Regions from separate parts of the Homo sapiens genome. Here region 2 is linked to region 1. Evidence: promoter capture Hi-C in human tissues and cell types (Jung and others, 2019). All regions are on one chromosome and are shown on one strand. Each heading gives the region's core, a stretch centred on a gene start or on the middle of the fragment in contact. The rest is flanking DNA. Distances are from core to core; before and after follow the strand shown. Region 1 holds the start of SREK1 (splicing regulatory glutamic acid and lysine rich protein 1). Region 2 holds the start of LOC124900989 (a long non-coding RNA gene).

Region 1 (6,785 bases), core at 1,777-4,276:
AGTGATTCTCAAATTTGGGGCTGTTCCTTGCTTTCCATTACTACCACCTCTTACCTTTGTTCATGACCTCATTATAGCTTATTCAGATTATTGCAATAACCTACCCAGTTTCTTTGCCTCTAGTCTGAACCCTTTCCAATGTATCTCCAGGTTGCAGTGACAGTCATCACTTTCTTTCTTTCCTTCCTTCCTTCCTTTCTTTTTTGAGACAGGGTCTTACTCTGTCACTCAGGCTGGAGTGCAGTGGCACAATCACAACTCATTTTCACTGTAGCCTCGAACCCCCAGGCTCAAGCAGTCCTCCCGTCTCAGCCTCCCCAGTAGCTGGGACTACAAGCATGCACCACCATGCCTGGCTACTTTTTTGTTGTTATTGTTTGGTAGAAACGGGGTCTCTCCATGTTGCCCAGGCTGGTCTCAAACTTCTGGGCTCAAGCAATCCTCCTGCCCTAGTCTCCCCAAATCCTGGGATTACAGGCATATGCCACCGCACATAGCCAGTCATTTTAGAACATGAATCTGATCAGGGTCACTCTTCAGCTCCGAGGTCTTCAGTGGCTCCCAGCTTATGATAAAGTAATCTCTACCATGACAAATAATACCCTTCATAAAGGCTTATTCCTTTGCATGCATCTCTAGTCATTTTCAGCCCAGCAATAACAGACTTTGAATCTTCTGTACCTCACTCGAGCTCTCTTTTACCTTAACCCTGCCTTTGCATATTCTACATGCTCAGTCTGGAATGCCCTTCACTGCTCCTCCTTCCCTCCTTGCCTGGGTAATTCCTATTTGTTCAATATTCAGCTTAAGCAATATTTCTTCTGGGAAGTATTCCATTAGAACTAAGTTTAAGAGGCCCTCCTGTGTGCTCTGAATTCCTCCATGCTTATACCTATGGTAATAATAATTCTCAAACATTTTGGTCTTGAGTCCCTTTACATTCTTAAAGATTATTAAGGACTGTAAAATGCTTTTATTACTATCCACATTATAAATTAAACCTGAGAAATTTGGTATTTTGAGATTCATTTAAAAATAATTATAAGCCCATTATGTTAATAGAAATGACGCATTTTTTTCTTAGAAACCGAGATTGAAGGCAAAATGATGCATTTTTATGATAAAATATTTTTCCAAAAAATTGGTGAGAAGAGTGGCATTGTTTTACATTTTTCAAACCTTTTTAATGTCTGCTTTAATAGAAGACAGCTGAATTCTCCTATCTATGTATTCTTTATTTTTTTCCAACTTTTATTGTAGGTCCAGGGGTACATGTGAAGGTTTGTTACATAGATAAATTCATGTCATGGGGGTTTGTTGTACAGATTATTTCATCATCCAGGTATTAAGCCCAGTGCTCAATAATTTTTTCTGCTCCTCTCCCTCCTTCCACCCTCCACCCTCAAGTAGACCACAGTGACTGACGTTTCCTTCTTTGTGATCATGAGTTTTCTGTGTATTCGATCTGTTGTGATATGTTTTGGTTGAAATATATGAGGGAAATCTGATCTCATAAAGATAAGGTGTTGGAAAAGGGAAAACTACTTTATAGCCTTTCCAGATAGTTCTAGATATTATTCTTTGATACGGTACCAAACTTACATGTGGTAGTTTCTTAGCCTTCATTGCAGTGTGGACTGAATCTGAAACCACATCAATTAAGCACTGAAATCCATCAATCTATCTTGCACATACCAGAGGCTTTTTGCCTTTGTAATGGCACCCACTGGCCATTTGAAAAATAGGTGTCCACTAAGTTGTAAAGATCACAAAAATGTTGACATATTTCATTATATAGTCAAAAATAAATTGTTAATATAATGCTTCTTTTACTAGAAAAGTCTTTAAGTACTGGCAAGCTGTCAAGCTCAAGCTGGTGGATACAAGTGTAATAAAATTTGTATTTTTAGGTGAAAATTCAAAGAATTACACTAGTGCTTTTTCCGGAGACAACCATTTCACTTGGGCATGTAGCGGCAGTAGTTTCCATTTTTTCACACATATTCTTTAAAAGACGTGTAAGCAAGGATGGATTTGAAAAAAAAATACAATTTTTAGTTATTTGTGAAGGACATTTTTAAAGTGAAACTAGCATACTTTAAAACCTTAAATGTTGTATGATGTGAAGAATACAAAATGCAACTACCAGTACAAGACTGGCGCCACTGCCTTGATTGCTGCTAAGGTGTCAGCAGTTTAATCTTTTACGTTACCAGTGCAAATGGCAACAAAGTGAAAAAGGTCAAGAAACTCTTAATATTATTACGAAAATCGTTTTGACCTTGCCAACTTACTGAAAAGGTCTCGGTACCCTTAGGGATCTGCGGAGGGCATTTTGGGAGCAGCTGCCATGGACTCACTACTGTTGTCTCTCATTAGGTTGCAAGTTCTATGTGAACTGTCTTTAACTGTCTGTTACGTGCCCTTGCCTAATAGTGCCTGGGACATAGCACTCAATAAACATCAACACCTGTGGAACGAGGGAATTAAAAACAGGTTATAAACAACCCCTGCACAGCCTTCATCTTACTGCCTCTTTCCTTAATTCAACCTGAACCTACGCATTTTGTAAAATTTTGTTTTTTTCACAATTAGGACGCCTGCCAACTTTTAAAAATAGTTGGAGTTGGGGTGCTGCCTGTATGTGATAAGGCTGCCCTATAGTTTGGTCAAGTGTTCTTCCGTGTTGTCCAAGAGTCATTCCTTCTTTACAGTCCCGCACCAGTAGGCCAGGCCGCTTGGTTTCCCAATCCGAGACCGGAAGGAACCGGGTAGACATGAGCACAAGACTCTCATCGACTTTTGGGGAAAACAAAAACACCGATAAAAATCCAGGCGGTGAAACGAGCAGCAACAGCCCCAGGGACCCGGGAGCTGGAGGCCGCAGCCGCGCGAGAACCGCCGGGTTGCCGGGGCGACGCTTCCGGCTGGCGCGCGCAGCCCCGGGAGCAGGGGAGTTGTGAAATGGGCGGCTAGATCTGCCCGGCGCTGTGAATTCGCCAGCGGGAGCGCGCTCGCGGCCGCGCGTTCTCCGCTTTCCCGGCTCCGTCGCTGACGCGTCGTAGACGTTGGGGAGCGGGAAGGCAACGGCAGCGGGATCGGGATGAACAGCGGCGGCGGCTTCGGTTTGGGCTTAGGCTTCGGCCTCACCCCCACGTCGGTGATTCAGGTGACGAATCTGTCGTCGGCGGTGACCAGCGAGCAGATGCGGACGCTTTTTTCCTTCCTAGGAGAAATCGAGGAGCTGCGGCTCTACCCCCCGGAGTAAGTGCTGGAGCTCGGCTGGGGGAGGGGCGCGGGCGCCATAGAGACCTCGGGAGCCGAGGCGTGGAGGAGAGCGCGGACGCGGGCGCGCGGTGCATGTCACGTGATCGCGCCGGCTTACCTTGGTGCCCATATTTGATTAGGGCACCCGGGTTCCGCCGTCCTGCTCTCCTTAGTCGGATTTGGGGGGTTAACTACTGCACGGAGCCCTTACCAAGGATTTAGAATGGTTGCCCTTTCTGTGCCTCCGGGACTTGTGTTCGCTGCTGGGTCTTCGAATTCCGTGCCCCCACCCTCTTATTTCCCCCCGAACTTAAGATGGCCGCAGGTGGGCCCGGAACAGCCCTCATGGCAAACGTCTCAGAGCGTTTTTCCACTCTGAAAATCGCGGAGACCGCGCCTGAGCCACAGTCCAGTTTTTAAGGCCTTGGTGTCAGGCCGTTTTGCTGACGAGAAAGCCTGCTGCTGGTGACAAGATGGAACTGGGGCTGTGTTTGTTTCCCAGGACGGTCGCACAAACTTAGCATTTTGGTTTATCTAACCGAGCGCATCCATGTTCCCAAAGATCATGTCTGTTAGCCCTTTTGACAGCAGATTAAATTTTCCTCCTGAAAGGTCACACTGTCCCAAAGCTTTCAGAAAAAGTGTAAGTCGGTGCAGGGTTATCCCTCCCGTATACATTTAAAGTCCAGATCTTGGCTGGCATTCACAGCTCGCGGCCACTTCCCAGATAGTGTATTTTGGAATGGTAAAATTTCCCTCGTACGATATTATTTAGAAAACTCGCAAGGGGTTTGTAGGTTGTTCACATTCTTGCACACAAACTTTTTTTCTTTTTTAATGGTAGATCTTACAGTATTAAGATCCTCCGTTTTTTGTTCATTATATCAAAATCCTTTGAGGGAAGGGGTAATTGTTACCCAAGATTTATTTCTTTAAAAAAATTTTGATTTATTTCCTAGTGATGCATTTAGACCTATTTTTCTTTAGTTTTCTATCTCAGGTTATAACAGTGCTGTTGCATAACTATATAAAAGTTGTGTGGATATTTAAAATTTACTTTTTAAGTTTTTCTTCTCTGCTTTTTGTTTTGGAATATTTCATGCATACAGAAAAGTTGAAAGAGTAATACATTGAACATCCATGTTCCTTTTACGAGCATTTTGTCTGTTTTTGGCTACAGTTGATTATTAAAATTTCCCCAGTTATTTTAATAATGCTTTTTTGTCTGCTTTTGATCTAGTATGTAATTAGATAACACTGTCTCCCTTGAATATGCCAAGTAATCCATGTATTAATAGTTATCTCCTTTAATCTAGGACAGTCCCGTCCCCTTTTAAAGATTCTAAAGTCGTGACATTGATATTTTGTTTTGTAGTTCATTTTGTCTTGTAATATGACTCATAATCTGAGTTTATATAGATGAGATATATAGATGAGGTATATAGAGATATGTGTATATATATATCTTTATATTCGTGACGAGATTCAGGTAATACATTTTTGACGAGAATACTGCATAAGTGCACGCACGTACATTTTGATTGATTAACCGTGGCATTATTGCTTTAATTATCTTAACTTTTGGAAATGCTTTCAGCCATCTCAATTTAAGTTCTCAGAACATTTCTTAATAGTTGAGAATAATTGAGAATTGTTTGGGGGAGTGCCGTATCCTGCAGGCATTGGAATCAATCAGTAAAATACTTTGTACATGAACCTTTGTAAATCTTGCTTTCAAGGCTGTGGTAATAAGGTATCTCATAGGTAGAAGAAATATATTGGAGAATGTTCTTCATTATCAACATAATATTTATTTGGTTGAAACCTGGGTTTGGGTGACAACACATTGCCATAACTGACAGTAATGGGCCACTTTTTTGAAATCAGATGTTATTACTTGGAATTTAAAAGTCAAAGAGAATAAAAAGTTCTTCACTTAAACATATGGAAGATTACGGTAGTGTATTTCACAAACTGTAACACATTAAGCAAAATTGTTGCATACGTGTAATATATATAGGCCAGGCAAAATCCTTAACTAGTTTTTCCCTAAGTGCAATACTAGATCCCTCATTCATGTTTTGCAGCAATACTGACATGCTTTATTCACAGGTTTTCTGCTTCGTAATGAAGTTGTCATTGCCTGGTCCTTATATTAGAAGACGTGTTTGCAAATTTGGACTGAAATGGATACAAAATGCAATAGTAGTAGTTGTATTGAAAATATATTGTTTTGCAGTGTCACATAAATTATTTTATGACATCTTTAGAGTTGAGTAGAAATTTAAATTGTTTTAAAATTGGAAATATATTTATTTTCAAATACATATTTCCAGGTATATTGGAAATACATTAATAGAATGTGAAAATAGTTTCTCATTAAAATTTTATGATTGAGCCAGGTGTGGTGGTGTGCACCTATAGTCCTAGCTACTCAGGAGGCTGAGGTGGGAGAACAGCTTGAGCCCAGGAGTTTGATTCCAACCTGAGTAACATATTGAGACCCCTATCTCTTAAAAAAAAATGACTTAAATGACTTAAGTTGCTAATATGAAAATTCAGATTTTAAATTTAATTCTTTTGGCATGATGCAGTGGTTGAGTTTCATCTTTATCTTTTAAACGTTAAGAATTTTTTAAGGCTAGGGAATTCTTGTGAACATTCACTGTAAGCATTAAGAATTCTTATTTGTAGTTTGTCATCCTTTTTTTGTGCTGCCAGTTGATAAATATGTAGAATTACTATTAACTTTTTGCACAATAAATCAATCTCACAGCTTGTGAAACTTTCTTACACAAGTAAGAAATCCTTGTTGTTTTTTCAGTAAATTTTTCATTGAGGTTTAATGTACCTACAGAGAAGTGCACAGGTCGTAAGCGCAGGTTGATGAATCTTTACAAAGTAAACATACCTATATAACCAGCACACAGTCAGGATTATCTGCACCCTGTAAGTTCCCCGTGACCCCCTTCAAGTAACTAAAACCTGAAGGGTAAGCCTACCCTGATTTGTAACACTAGACATTTTTCCTGTGTTGATTTTTTTTGCTTGTTGATTTCCGTCACTTCTCTGGTCTTCTAAAGTTCTAAGAAAGAATGGAAAAATCTGTCAACTACTTAAGTTTATTTAGTTAAAAAAAATGTAACCACTAAAGCCACTTTATAGAAAATAGAGAAAAGGAAACAGCACTTGTGATCCCACCACTCTATCAAAGCTTCTCTCCATTTCCCTGTAGTCCTTTTCACATGCGTTAATAAATATTGGACATATTACCTCATTGGTTTTAAAAATAATTGTATAGTGCTATCATTATGTAATATATGTAATATAGCGTAATCAAAGGAATCACACTGTTATTTTACTTTTTTCACTTTGTCATAAGCATTTTCCATATTGCTGTCTTATTTATAGTAATATTTAGAGATTAGTAATTTCTGAGTGTATTGTGTGTTTTTGAAATTCTATTGTTGGATATTTTGATTGCTTTTTTTGGTATTACAAATTAGTGGATTTTAGCT
Region 2 (6,785 bases), core at 1,383-3,882, 1.2 Mb after region 1:
TCTCTGATTGCTACCATAATATGTATTGAACTAATACTCACTGATTGCTCCTTCTCTGTGTCCTTTGCTAGTTTGTCCATATCTTCCAGATCTCCATGCTTTCCAGGGCTAGGATCCACTTCTCTCTATCTGATTCTTTTACTGAGCTATCTTATCACAGGTCACCAAATACCATCTGGAAGCTGGTGACTTCCAAAGGTAAATCTTCAACCCAACTTCTCCTCCAAACTCCAGGCTCATATCTAATGGCCTCCTTGACATTTCCTCTTGATTTCTAATAGACTTTCTAAACCCAATATGTTCAAAATGGACTGACTTCCTAATCACCAACCTTCCACCTTCCATCAGCCTATTTCTTTTCTGTATCTTAGTAAAAATCTGTCCAGCTTCTCAGACTAAATAAATTTTGAATTATCCTTTACTTCTCTCTTTTTATTACTGTCCACATCTAAACCATCAACACATTATATTAGTTCTATCTCTAGAATATATCTGGAATCCAACCACTTTTCACCATGTATTTCTGTATCATCTGAGTCTGAGCCACTGTCGTCTCTCATCACCCTTACACAGCAACCAGAGTGATCCCTTTAAATGAGATTTAAAAGACATTACGTTCTGCTCAAAACCCTCCAGTGGGTTCCTTATCACTTGGAACATAAGTGAAAATTCTTACAATGGCCAACGATACTCCCTGCTCCTACCACCACCCTATCTCTTCTTTGACCATATCTCTTCCTATTCTTCGTCTGGCTCACTTCACTCCTCCCACACTCATCTCCCTGCTAGTCATTGAACATATCAGGCACACTTACTAAGAAGCTTTGTTAAAACACAGATTTCTTCCATGCAGAAGGTCTGGGGTGTGACTGGTTAATTTGCATTTTTAGAAATGCAAATTGTTAGAAATACAAACCTAGAAAGGTTCTAGGTGATCTAACTACGTGGTGCTATGGTGATGAACCAAATCTCTGGGTGAGTGGATGGAAGCTCTGACTTACTGTGTTTGCTGATTTCTGTGATGTGAATGCTTCCACCACAGCCAATATCAAACTGATCAACTGGATCACACAATTCCTGAAGATTTAACAATCGGCTATCACGAGTGCACCACCATAGCCTCTGGTCCAGAAGAGCTCTCCAGGGCCTACTTGGGGGAAAGAGTGAGGAAGGGAGCAATTATCTATTGAGCATTTATGATATGCCAGTCACTGTTCTGGTCCTTGACATAAAATGTTTCACTTGGTCCTCAACAAATGTATGAGATTATGTTTTGCAATTTTAGTTTTTTAGAGGAGGAAACTGAGAAGTAAAATTACTTGAGTCACACCCCTGAGATTTGAAACTAGAAACCCAAAGTCCTTCTCCTTCTAAAACAAAACACAACAAAACAATACCTTGGGCCTCTTTGGGTGGCACCATATCACTGAGGACATCACTGTAGGGCTGGGGGATGAAAGATGGGAGAAGCTGAAGGTAACCTATGGCATAGATATAGTCTGACCTTAAAGGTGACAAAATATTGTCCAATTGAGTTTTTAGAAGGAAGCTGTGATGAGTAAACCTATACTTGAAGTAGGTTAACCACGTGGGGGCTGCAGCTCTCTGAGCTAATCACAGCCAATGAGCCAAGTGCAGCTAGAGAACATGTTCCCTTCCCTGGTTACTGCCTGATAATCCAGGAACTAGTAATTTCAGATCAAAGGAGACTGCAAAGCTCATATATTGAGAATTCTGATGCCAGGTGCTAAAATAACCTTCCTTTGAGGGCAAGTAAATTCCCTCAATTGATGGAACAGAAGTTGCTCCAGGCAAAGGTCCCACTTGTTCCTCTGCTTAATTGCCTTGCTACCCTCCTTCTGGATGGAGCTTCAATCACTGTATTTCCTAAGCTTGGAACCCCTGGGACAGGTTTCCACTGGCATGCTTTTTAAGCAACTGGGGTGATTATCCAGGCATCAAAATTGCTTTCCTCGGGCTTTTTTTAAAAGCCAAGTTTAGTTTCTGCTCTTCTGAATCGTCTGGAACACTGCCCTCTGCCTCACCATCCTGTGCCAGTGGAGACCTGGTCTCAGGCTGGGCAGCTGAGCTACCTGGCCTAAACAAAAAGGCTCCAGGCCCTAAAGGTTACAGACCTTATGCTGACCCAAGAGTCCAAGGCAATGCAAAGCAAAGTCCAGGGTGATGAAAATGAAGTTGCATTTTCTGAGCTGCCTTGTTCTTCACAGTTTTTATTAGATTATTTTATGGAGAGCTCTGGACTCTTGCAGCCCCTGAGGCATTTCGATGGAGCTTAAAGTGGCAGAGGAAAAGTAACCCTGAAGAGGAACAGGGAAGGCTCCATCTCTCTTCTGTAGATGGGCAAGCAAAGGATATTCCATTTCTTTCGTCATTACACATTCATTCATTTATTCACTCACTCATTCATTCAAATGCCGTTAGAGCAAGTACAGTGGAAAACTAGAGGAAGGAGACATTACTCTGTAGATGAGAGAACACTTCTTGGAAAGCTTTAAGAATAGCTTTTCGAGATATAGTTATGAGGACATGCTAGGTGGGAGGAAGGGAGAGACCCAAGGCTCAGAACCTCCAAATGTCAGAATGTGTGTGTGTGTGTGTGTGTGTGTGTGTTTAACCCATTCTGAAGGACAAGAATCAAAGCCACCAAAATGTGGAATTCTTTTAACTTGTTATGTTTCATCTAAGCCCTTCTTACAGTCCTCAGGACGGACTGAGAAATGTGCTGCCATTTCCTTTTCTCCTCGTAAGGCCTCCTGTACCTCAAAGCCAAAAAGCAGAAATGGATATAAGGTTTTGTCTGACATGAATCTGCTTAGAGAGAGTGAAGGCTAACTTTTGGAGTTCATATGACTACTTCTTACCTGCAGGGGGTTCTTTGAGAGGACCTAATAACAGAGAATCGAAATGTCACCTTAGTGACTAGATGACCTAGGGATGCTGAGCCAAGACTAAGCACACTCACCCACCCAAGCCCTGACAGGAGGAGCGGTGGAGGCGTGGCCCCTGGTGTGAAAGAAGCAAGGTGCTGGGAGAAGCAGGCTGTGTTTATTCTCCCCATTACCTCATTACCACTCCACTTCCCCCAGGAGAGTGCGAAAAGGCAGGGTGGGGGGCGGGGAGCCAGACCAGCATTGTAACCCCAGTGGGGTCCCCTCCACCAGGACAATGGGAGTGAGGAAGAAGCATTTAACCCTAATATCATGCACTGGTTAGAGAAAGGAAACGTGGCTGGAGGTTATGGTTATCCTCAAAAGAGGAAAGGTGAACTTCTTCTACAAATGAGGGTCATCATAAAACATTTCCAGCGGAGCGTTTCTTTTTTCTTCTTCCATGAGATGTAGAGATGGGAAAAGCTTACCTTACAGAAACTAGTCCCCGGCAGGCAGCCGACCCTCCGTGGGTTCTGTTGACAGTGATTCCTGGCAGGCAAAGGAGGAGTGAGAAGAGGAGTAAGAAGGGTCAAGAGAGAAAGGGCCTGGTGCAGCGAGAGATGGGCCGGGGGAGCCTTTGAGCCTTTGGGAATGAAGCAGATGTAACTTGACTGTATCTCTCCAGTACTTTATAAAAGAGAAAAGGATGATGGCAATTTTGTAGGGCAAGAGTAGAATAAGGCTGAGTTTGTGCTGTCTTATGCCTTCAAAAGAGAAGGAAGGAAAGAAGGACCAAATATGGAATTGGACTTCATTTCTAAGCGTGAACCTTCATCACTTTCATCAGTAGCCATCTGGCATGCTGCGTTCCATGGCATTTCTCTAAAATGACTGGCAACCTCCAACAGTTTCCTTGGCACCGCCACTGAGAAGCCTCCGTCCTCAGCGACGTGCTGGAAATAGTCAAAGCTCTACACACGCAGGTAATAATACTTGGCTTATCAGCACCTTATTCAACCCCAATACAGCGAAGCCCTCCCCTCTGTGTGATACTTCCAGATGCAGATTCAGAACTTCTTTGTTTTTGTCTCCTTCTCATGAGGCTTCTAGAAAGAGTGCCAGTAATGGCGAAGAATAGCAATGCACAGATACATATAAAAATATTCCCCTCCTTTAGGTTTCCATATCACTGTATTCACATATCTTTACAGCACTTATTATATGGTACTATAATTATCTGTTTATATGTCTGTATCTTCCAGTAGATTTTAGCACTTAGAGAAGTGAAAATACATCCATTTCATCTGTGCACCCTCATCACTGAGCACAGATGCTCAAGGAAGGCTTGGATGGACAAATTTTTCAGCTTTATGCTTTCTACCCTTAGTACAACTGGTTCACAACAGGCAAAGCAATCACCCATTTTCAGAATATAAATGAAACTCTTAACTTTTCCAGAAATAGATAATTCTGAAGAAGATTTTCTTTTGTTTTCTAAGAAGTATGGACCTTTCTCCAGGTGCTATGAGAGGAACCAAGCCAACACTCAAAGCAGCCCTGACCAAGAAAACCAGGACATTTTCTACAAGCATAAAAGTGTTCTGGTATTCCAGCCAACATTTGGATTTGGCAATTGATTTGACTGACTTGGTCCAAGAATTTATTCAGGCTTTCAAGTCACCAAACTGAATCTCTCAGCATTTTGGAAGAGAGAAAAAAATATATACACACGAAAAAAATCACACGAAGATTTGACAGACCGATAAAAGTTTACCATAATCGTGTCATAAGAAGTTTACTTTATGCTAGAGGGAAGAGAAAACATACAGAACCAAGATTTGGACAGAACTAAGTTCTCTCAAGAACGGAGCCCATAAATTGGCAAGCCCCTGTAACATTTTATGAAAAAATTTTTGATTGAGCAAATAGCTTTTATTGATTAAATTTGTACGTCCAAATGAAACTCTGCTTCTTTTATGTTATAGTTGGTTTCTAAACCTGCTGCTTTACGTTTGTATCCATGGGTGCACATGCATACCATCTACTCAGTAATATTCAGTGATGTCAAATGCCTTGCTGAAAAAAATGGATGTGTCTGTAAACCTCAGGCGATGGCTAAATTATGTGTGACAATATTTGACACAGCAAAAATTCCTGAGCAAGTGAAGAACTTGGGGCATATCTTGAAGATATCACCATGGTTTTTGACTTGTAATCAAATTTTCTTATAAGAGTCTTCAGACTATTAATTCTCTGATGTGAAGTAGCTTCTCTAGTTGACAATACTTTCTGAAACTATCTAAGCTCTGATGATATTTGTTTGTGGTGGCATTTGTATAGTCTCCTCCAGGCTCTACTTTGAAGAAATTTCACTACTGAGATGCACATGTAAATACCCCAAAAATTGGACTATCTGTACCGAGCATGCATTTTCCATTTTATTGTCTCCCAAACAACAGGGACTGGTTTGTTAAACCAGCTAGATATCACTTGTGGAAAGCAATATTTCTCAAGCTCTGAAACAAAATAGGCTTCTTTAAAACATTTAAAAACAATAATTTCAACTTTTATTATAGAGTCAGTGAGTACATGTGCAGGTTTGTTACCTGGGTGTAGTGTGTGGTTCTGAGGATTAGGGTAGTGAGCATAGCACCCAATAGCTAGTTTTTCAACACGTGTTCCCCTCCCTCCCACCTGCCTCTAGTAGTCCCCAGTATTTATTGTTGCCATCTTTATGTCCATGAGTACCCAATGTTTAGCTCCCACTTATAAGTGAGAATACGTGGTATTTGGTTTTCTGTTGCTGTGGTAATTTGCTTAGAATAATGGCCTCCAGCTACATCCATGTTGCTGCAAATGACATAATTTAGTTATTTCTTGTGGCTGTGTAGTATTCCATGATAGATATGTACCACATTTTCTTTGTAAGCCTATTGATAGGCACCTAGGTTGAATCTATGTCTTTGCTATTGTGACTAGTGCTGTGATGAACATACAAGTGTGTGTGTCATTTTGGTGCAACAGTTTATTTTTATAACAGAAATGTCTGTTCATGTCTTTTGCCCGCTTTTTAATGGTTTTTGTTTTGTTTTGTTTTGTTGCTTGTTGAATTATTTAAGTTCCTTACAGATCCTGGATATTAGACCTTTGTCAGATGCATAGTTTGCAATTATTTTCTCCTATTCAGTTCATTGTCTGTTTACTCTGTCGATAGTTCCTTTTGCTGTGCAGCAGCTCTTTAATAAGGTCCTACTTGTTTCATTTTTTTTTAGAGAGGGGGGATCTCACTTTGTCACCCAGGTTGGAGTGCATGGTACAACCATAGTTTACTGTAAACTTGTTCAGGAGATTCTCCTGTCTCAGTCTCCTGAGCAGCTGGGGCTACGGGTGAACACCACAGTGCCTGGCTAATATTTGAAATTTTTTGTAGAGATGGGGTCTCACTGTGTTGCCCAGGTTTGTCTCAAACTCCTGGCCTCAAGTGATCCTCTTGCCTCGGCCTTCCAAAATGCTGGGCTTACAGGTGTGAGCCACTGCACCCTACTTCTTTTAAAAGCAAAAGAAAATTCTTGAAGATTCCCTTGGGGGTCGTTGGATCCCTGTTGGACTGACACTGATTTAAGAAATTAGAGTTCCAACTCATGAAAATATCTTTTCAAAGAGAATCTCAAAGATCAACATTCCTCTGATATTCAAATAAGGAAACATATAGTAATCATTTGATAGATTTTTTACAACCAGAGTTATGAAAAATTCTGAGAACAAAGGATGCACCTACAAATAAAAGACTCTCTCCAGAAGTCTGAGTATTTTGAATCTCAGTTAAGTAAATGATGGAAAAGAACTAATGATTTCTCACTTTGAAGATGTAAAGATTAAAGAGAAGTGAATAAG

Evidence for each region. The method cuts DNA at HindIII sites, captures the fragments that hold promoters and counts their contacts. A contact is called where the count stands out against the background at its distance.
Region 2: a contact is called between a fragment that was not itself captured here and the fragment with the promoter of SREK1 in region 1, in 1 of the 25 tissues and cell types used here (hippocampus).

Annotation. Positions count from the first base shown.
Region 1 is chr5:66,141,274-66,148,058 of GRCh38, forward strand. SREK1 (splicing regulatory glutamic acid and lysine rich protein 1) reads left to right here and starts at 3,027. Exons shown (of 12, transcript NM_001077199.3): 1 at 3,027-3,264. The coding sequence starts at 3,104. RefSeq lists a silencer at 2,808-2,877 and enhancers at 3,058-3,337, 3,598-3,657, 3,718-3,767. The HindIII fragment of the contact is 17,400 bases long and covers 1-5,188 here.
Region 2 is chr5:67,362,675-67,369,459 of GRCh38, forward strand. LOC124900989 (a long non-coding RNA gene) reads right to left here and starts at 3,629. Exons shown (of 2, transcript XR_007058799.1): 1 at 3,380-3,629. The HindIII fragment of the contact is 4,893 bases long and covers 187-5,079 here.